Linked DNA regions of Homo sapiens: region 2 is linked to region 1. Evidence: promoter capture Hi-C in human tissues and cell types (Jung and others, 2019). All regions are on one chromosome and are shown on one strand. Each heading gives the region's core, a stretch centred on a gene start or on the middle of the fragment in contact. The rest is flanking DNA. Distances are from core to core; before and after follow the strand shown.

Region 1 (4,156 bases), core at 1,582-4,081:
CCTACCCCCCGTTCGTACACCCCCTCCCCTTTTGCAATCCTTAATAAAAGCTTGCTGGTTTTGAGGCTCGGGCCGGCATCACGGTCCTACTGATATGTGATGTCACCCCTGGCGGCCCAGCTGTAAAATTCCTCTCTTTGTACTCTTTCTCTTTATTTCTCAGCCAGCTGACACTTATGGAAAATAGAACCTATGTTGAAATACTGGGGGCAGTTTCCCCGATAGCCTTGCTGAGGAAATTAAATTTATGTTCAAGTGCTATTTCTTTATGGAACCAAGGAACAAGTATTTCAAACAATACTAATGTAACAGTACTGGTTCTATGTGTTTCAAAATTATTATTCTCATGAGTGTTAGCTTTCTTAAAAAATCGTTTTTATCAATTGGATCTAGACATCTTATCTTTCACAGCTCAAGACCCATTAACTCAAAATCATAAACTCTTAATGCATAATGAGAAATATAATGATTCCTAGGGCCAGGCACTTGTGTCTGTGCTGGTGCTATTGCCTCAATGCAGGAAAATCTATGTGAGAATTCACTGTGAGGCCAAAACTGCTTCCTAAACATGGATACCTGCCAGGTATCTGAGCTGGGAGTACTGCCCAGGTCTGGATGGGTGGGGAGTGTTTGCAACAAGGACTGTGCCTTGCCAGCCTCAGTGACACAGTGTCCAAGTGCCCCAACTTAGCAGCCACCTGCTGACCACCTGATTTCTGTGGCCTAATAGGGATGTGATGAAGTCTACCTGTTTACTCAACCCCAAACCACACATTATCCAGGTGGTTTGAAACTTTTTTGATATACTGGGTTCATCCTCTGGAGTCCTAACAATGTTTTAGCTAATTTACAAAAAAACAAAAACAAAAACAAAAAACAAAAAACTACTTTTTTTGCAGCACAACAGCCTGGTTTACATTGCAAAATGATTTCTCATTAAAGGTCTATCATCTATTTCCATATATCCATTATTATTTGTAATATCCTTTAAAAAAAGCAGTCAACCCCAGGCTAATCCATTGCACAACTCTTTTGAAAGTCTTCCTTCTACCTTGAAAGAAGAAAGTTGGCAGGTTGGACATTGTTCTTGCGGAGGTTGTACCATGGGTCACATATCACGGTGTGACTTCAAAGGCCACTGGAGCCACCGTCTCATACTGAAGAACACACATGGGTCAGGAGCCAGGTCCAGGTCCGGCATGGTGGATCTGGAGAGGGGAGAGTCCCTGCCTGTGATCCTGTGGGGAGCCCTCAGGCTCCTCTCTGGCCACCATCCTCTGACCTCCCTCCTCAGCAGGACAGGGTTCTGGCTTCTCTGAGGGACAGGTTCTGTGGCAGACCAGGTGTCACTAACACAGGCCTCCATAACAACTGTTTCAGTACTGACTGAGTGATGAAATTAAATATTAAAAGCTGAAAAAAGCCAGTACCTTTATACAGAGGCTGGATGTAACAAAAGCCCACCAAGAGTTTTGCTTAGGCCTTTCCTGGGCCTTAAAGCATGACAAAACAACGAAGGAATTCTTAACAGGACCTATTTAGAATTAAACAAGTTTTATTGTGAGTCTGAAGAAACTCCCCAGGCCTCCACAAACAAGTTTACTGGGCATCTGAAGGAACTCCCCAAACCTCCATGATTTAGCAGGAGACAAGATAAGGGCAATCATCCCCCGCACCTGGACCCATTTAGATTAAGTAAATAGACTGAGGCTCCAGAGTAAGGTCCTCAGGACCCAGACCTCAGTTACAGATTAAAGAAGTTAATCACTTATGTCTTTAGATGAATGCACACTTACTTGTAGACATATACCTTAGAAGGTATATATGCTCTGGAAAACTTTAATTTTGAGTTGGTCTGGTAGTAATTTCCAGGCCTTCTCCCTGTAACTGGTTGCAGAAATAAAACCTCTCTTCCTCCCCATTTGATCTGCATCTCGTTATTGGGCCTAGAGAAATAGCAGCCGGACCCTCAGTTTGGTCCGGGAAGTTCTTCCATCCTCCCTCGCCTGCTCTCTGTGGCCACTGCACTCACTGTTGCTGTTGCTGTTCCGGTCTCTGTGAGGTTCACCTAGTGGACTGGCTGGACATTTCTAGGGGGCACCTCAGATACCTCACCAACTTGCTGGATCTGATCCTTGGATTTCGATTCATAAATTGTGCCAAAATACGAAGTGGCTAATTTACATAGTACTTAGCCAGATGACCGAAGGACTCAGTATCCAAAGGCCCCTAACAGAAAACACAGACCACATTTCCTTTACTCTGGCCCTTTTCCTGGGGGTCCTTCCTATACCACTGACACTGTTCCTGTGTAGGCGGGGCTAGAGGGGAGACTAAGCCCTCGGAGTAGCTTTCGGATCAGAGGAAGTCCTGCTCTTACAGTGACAGGGGCTGAATTAAATTCCCAGGTTGGGACCACCACTTTTTAGTCTGACCCCTGCAGCCGGAGTCTCCCAGAGCCCTTGGGAACTCGGCAGCGGAGAGAAGGCTGAGGGATTCTGCGGGCAGGGAGGAGAAGGGAGAAGAGCTTTGCTCCGTTAGGATCTGGCTGGTGTCTCAAGCGCACAGCCAAGTCGCTGTGGACCTAGCAAGGGCTGGATGGACTCATGGAGCCTCAGGGCGGGTTGGGGAAGCTGGCGAGGCCGAGCCCCGCTTTGGGCTTCTGGGCGCCCTGACCTCGCTCCCGGAACCCTGGGGACTGGGAGGCGGGAGGGGGCTTATTGATTCCAGCCCCGGGCGCTCGCTCGGGGGCCTACAGAATGGCGTGTTTCGGGGTTGTGGCGGGCCGAGGGGCGGGGTCGCAGCAAGGCCCCGCCTGTCCCCTCCTGGGCCTCTCAAAGTCTGAGCCCCGCTCCGCTGATGCCTGTCTGCAGAATCCGCACCAACCAGCACCATGCCCATGACTCTGGGGTACTGGGACATCCGTGGGGTAAGCGAGGGTCCTCTGGTGGGTGGGACAGGGGGCGGAGGCGGGGATGTGTGGAGTAGCTGCAGGACTGGCTCTAGGGACCGTTCCTCTTCAGGGCTGCCCGCCTCAGAAGGGCCTGTGCATGACGCTGTGTGTGTGTTTGGGGGTGGGGGCGGGTAGAGGAGGCGACGGGTACGTGCAGTATAGACTAGGGGCTGGCCTGGTGCAGAGAAAGTCACCAAGTCAGGGACCCTCCATCTCTGACCCGAGCCGCGGGCCATCTCTCCCAGCTGGCCCACGCCATCCGCTTGCTCCTGGAATACACAGACTCAAGCTATGTGGAAAAGAAGTACACGCTGGGGGACGGTAATGGCACCCTCGTGTCCGGGCCCTGCCCACTCACGCTGAGTTGGCACCAAGCAACCCATGGTGGCCACCTGTGGCTGCCTCTGCAGGCCTCCCCTGCTGGAGCTGCAGGCTGTCCCTTCCCTGAGCTCCCGTGAGTGAGCCCTCTGGCCTTGCAAGGCAGAATGCTGGGGCGGGATGCTGGACACCCTGTCTAATTGGGTTGGGTGTCCCTCAGAGCTTCCCTAAACCCTGGAAGCCTTAGCCGTTGTGGGGTCCAGAGCCCTCAGTGGGATTCTTTCTCCCTGAACCCTGGGATGTGGGACTGAGTGGTCAGATTCTAGATCCACCTGTCTCAGGGATCTTGCCACTGGCTCCTTGGGAGGGTCCCCGGGAAGGAGGGCTGGGCTCTGGGGAGGTTTGTTTTCACTTCTTCCCCACCACAGCTCCTGACTATGACAGAAGCCAGTGGCTGAATGAAAAATTCAAGCTGGGCCTGGACTTTCCCAATGTAGGTGCAGGGGAAGGGGCGGTTTTGGGGGAAAGTGCGACGTGTCTCTGACTGCATCTCCTCTCCCCACCTTAGAGGTGTTAAGATCAGGAGTCTTCTGCCCAATTCCTCTCACTCTTGGCTGTCTACACAGCCCTTGCATGATGTTCTGTGTCCCAGCTCATTTATTAGTGTGACAGTATTTCTATCTCAGGCCTGCCATGAGCAGGCCCTGGTCTCCTCTCTGCCCTTGCATATGGGAAGGGGATGCTGGGGAGCCTGGTGGCCCAACTGAGCTTCCCCGGTTTCCCATCTATCCAGCTGCCCTACTTGATTGATGGGGCTCACAAGATCACCCAGAGCAATGCCATCCTGCGCTACATTGCCCGCAAGCACAACCTGTGTGAGTGTGG
Region 2 (3,838 bases), core at 1,039-3,538, 140 kb before region 1:
ACTTCCCTGGTGTATTGAAGATGGGCAACTGAATCTCTCCTTAAACTTGTGATACATTTTTGAAAAAAGATAGATAAAAGATGCAGATAAAATTAGGAAGTTCTGAACACCACATGTGTTGTGGAGTAGGGAGATGGAACATAGGAAGCAGCTTGGGGAAAACGCAACAATGAGATGTTATGAAAAGGGAGCTTACTGCTAGAACAATGGAGCACAGAGAGTTGAGGTAAAAGTGAAGAGCCCAGACCTAATAAGAAAGGGTTATAGAAAGTGTTTCAATAATTTGGAGAATTATTAGATAAACTGATGGTTTTAAAAATAGTGCCCCTGAGATGGAACTGGAAGCTCAGGAGAAGATATTAGTGTGATAATAAAGGGAAAGGCAAACTGACATTTTCTCAGGGAGCCTTGGAAAAATGTGAGAGAGGTAGGGCAACAGAGGGTTTTTTGTTTTTTTTTTTAATCAGCGCATCCATAGGGTAGGATTAATGAGATAGGTAGAAATTGATTCTGAGATTAATGGATTTATTATTTCATTCAAGATAATCTCACATGAATGATGGAAATGTGGTTTTCAATATATAAAAGAATGGTACACATTAATTCATTAATCTCAACTTTTCTTAATTTAGTAGCTCTTGTTACTATGGATAATCTGGGAATTCTGTCTTTTAAGCAATTTAAAATATAACTGGTATGCATTTGTATTTTCTTCCCAGAGTAGAATCATTGGATTTTTTAGATATGAATGAGAGGATTCACCTTTTTATAACAGCATCCTAAGAAAGTCACTATGTGCTATTTGAGTATTAACTATTTAGTACTACCCCTGATTATCGATTATGTAATAAGACAAGATCATATATAAATGTACCTTTTGATTCTGTAAGAATGTAGTTGTCTAGAATTTTTATATTTGGATTTTAATTAACTTTTGGTTAGTAAAGTTGAGAAATATTTAGTAAAGAATCATGGTTACTAAATATTATTCATTGTTTAGTAATATTTATTTGAGTAGATAATTTATGTCATGACCAGTTTAAGGCCCTGGGAATGCAGGGATGAATAAGCCTTCATGGAGCTTATATTTTAGTGGGGAAGATAAGAAATGAGCTAATCTGTCATGTGAAGAAGTGGTAAGTGCTATGAAAAAATATAACACAGAATAAGGGGAGAGACTGTGACGGGGTGGGAGCTATTTAGATAGATTAGTCAGAAAAGGCTGTTCCTGTGAGGAAGAAAATCTTGCAAAACTTATTTCAGGTAACAGTAAACGCAAAGACAGGAAAGACAGAGTCAGGACCTAACTCAGTAAGAACCGGTTTGGTATGTTGGAGGAAAAGCAAGAATGCTGGTCTGACAAGAGCTGTGAGGACAAAGTGGAGAGTAACAAGAGATGAGGGTGAAGAGGTAGGCAGGGGCCAGAGCATATTGCACCATAATGCCCATGGATTTTGAGTATAATTGAAGATCGTGTGACAAGATCTAATTTACATTTTACAAAGTTTATTCCACCTACTGACTGGCAAACTGGCTTTAGAAAAGGCAAGGTCTGAAGCACTGAACTATTTAGGAAGCTTTTGCAGTGATCTAGGCCTATGGTTTCCAATGTTCAGGAACAAACTGTTAAAACTATTATATTAACTATTTATATTGCTTTATTTAAAAAAATTAAGCTTTACTAATATTTAATATACAGATTGGCACTGGCATCCTTGTCTTATCTGCACGTTAGTCACATGTCATTTAACATTTTTGGCTTGAGCAACTGGTGAATGTTGGTGCCATTTACTGGAATGAGAAGACTGAGGGAGGAGCAGGGTTTGTTTTGAGGTGAGAGTGAGTTGGGGAATCAGTATCTCAGTTTTGAGCATTTTAGGTTTGTGAAATCTAAATACCTACTAGAAATCTAATATCAGGTAGATGGTTTAGATATATGAATCTGGAGCCAAGGTTAGAAGCCAAGATTAGAGATCTAAATTTGGAAATCATTAGTATAGAGACAGTATACACCAGCTTTGGAGCCAAACTGTGAATGCAAATTTCAGTTCTGCCACTTACTAACTGTGTAATTATAGGCAAGTTACTTGACATCTGTCTGCATCATTTATCTCATCTGTAAAATGGGGGTAATAATGTCTACCTCATAGGGTTATTGTGAGGATTAAATTAGTTATTACAAACAAAGTGATTAGAACAGTGTGGCCGAGGGTACTCACTAGATGTTAACTGTTAGGATCAGTTTTTGAATAGTGTTTAAGCCATGAGATTAGGGCCGGGTGCGATTGCTCACTTCTGTAATCCCAGCATTTTGGGAGGCCGAGGCAGGTGGATCGCTTGAGCCCAGGAGTTCGAGAGCAGCCTGGCAAACATGGTGAAACCCCGTCTCTACTAAAAATACAAAAATTAGCCAGGTGTGGTGGCGTGTGCCTGTAGTCCCAGCTACTCAGGAGGCTGAGGCAGGAGAATCACTTGAACCTGGGAGGCAGATGTTGCAGTGAGCCAAGATTGCGCCACTGCACTCCAGCCTGGGTGACAGAGCAAGAGTCTGTCTCCAAAAAATAAAGACCATGAGATTAGATAACTTAGAGAATGAGTTTAGATAGGGAAAAGGGCCAAGGAGGGACCCCTGAAGCAATATAACCTTTAGAATTCAGAAACTGGGTTGGGTGCGGTGGCTTTCGCCTGTAATACTAGCACTTTAGGAGGCTGAGGCGGGCAGATCACCTGAGGTCAGGAGTTTGTGACCAGCCTGGCTAATATGGTGAAAAACCCTGTCTCTACTAAAAATACAAAAATCAGCTGGGTGTTGTGGCAGGCGCCTGTAATCTCAGCTACTCAGGAGGCTGAGGCAGGAGAATTGCTTGAACCTGGGAGGCGGAGGTTGCGGTGAGCCGAGATTGTACCATTGCACTCCAGCCTGGGCTACAGAGCGGGACTCCATCTCAAATAATAATAATAATAATAATTCAGAAACTGGAGAGAGGAGATTGAGGAGTGAAGTAGGAATCAAACCTGAAGGGTATGTTGGCTAGAAGCCTGCCTAGTGAAGAAAATATTTCAACTTAGACAAATTCTGCTTGAGAGGCTAAGATGAGCACCAAGAATTGACCAACTGGGTTTGTCAAGATGGAAGTTTTTGGAGACCTTGAGAAGTAGTTTTATTAGAGTGGTGGGGATGAAAGCCTGATTAGCATAGCTGAAGGACAGAATTGGATGTACGAAATTGGAGGCACTGAGTATAGATGGCACATTAGAGGAGTTTTGCTGCAAAGAGGGATAGAGAAAATGGTGTGGTAGCTAGAAGAAAATGTGTGGGGTCAAGGAAAGTTAGGGGTGTGTATGTGTGTTGATTTAAAGATGGAAAATAGTATAGTAAGTTTGCATGCTGATGAGAATGACCCAGTGGAAAGAAAAAACTGATCATATTTGAGATGTGGAAAATATCATGGGAAATTGCAGCAGCCATGACCTTGAGTAGGTAAAATGAAGGTGCATAAGGGGAGAAGTTGATTTTAAAACATTGGCAGAGACTTTTCATCCATTGATGAAGGTAGAGAATATTAATGGAGGTACAGATAGACTGGTAGATGTCGTTGTGGGAAAATGTAGTTTTTTCTGATTGCTTTAATTTTTATGGAAAAGTAGGGTAGGATCATCAGTTGAGAGTCAGAATTGGGAGGGGGTTTATAAAATTTGAGAGAGAGGAGGTGGTGTGATATAGGCATCTTGGAAGATAGGAAAATGAGTTGACTAGGGAAGATCTAGCAGGTGGATTTGTCAAGGAGGTCAGAAGGCTAGCTTGACATTTGTGGTCATTTGTTTAAAGTGATTCCAG

Evidence for each region. Contacts are between HindIII fragments. The study calls those that stand out against the background at their distance.
Region 2: a fragment that was not itself captured here is called in contact with the fragment with the promoter of GSTM5 in region 1 in 2 of the 25 tissues and cell types used here (aorta and spleen).

What each region holds. Positions count from the first base shown.
Region 1 is chr1:109,709,420-109,713,575 of GRCh38, forward strand. GSTM5 (glutathione S-transferase mu 5) reads left to right here and starts at 2,832. Exons shown (of 8, transcript NM_000851.4): 1 at 2,832-2,929; 2 at 3,199-3,274; 3 at 3,700-3,764; 4 at 4,065-4,146. The coding sequence starts at 2,894. The HindIII fragment of the contact is 7,760 bases long and covers 1-4,156 here.
Region 2 is chr1:109,569,363-109,573,200 of GRCh38, forward strand. All of the region lies in intron 1 of GNAI3 (G protein subunit alpha i3), which reads left to right. Among named protein-coding and RNA genes, the nearest start is that of GNAI3, 23 kb to the left of the region's middle. The HindIII fragment of the contact is 7,050 bases long and covers 1-3,838 here.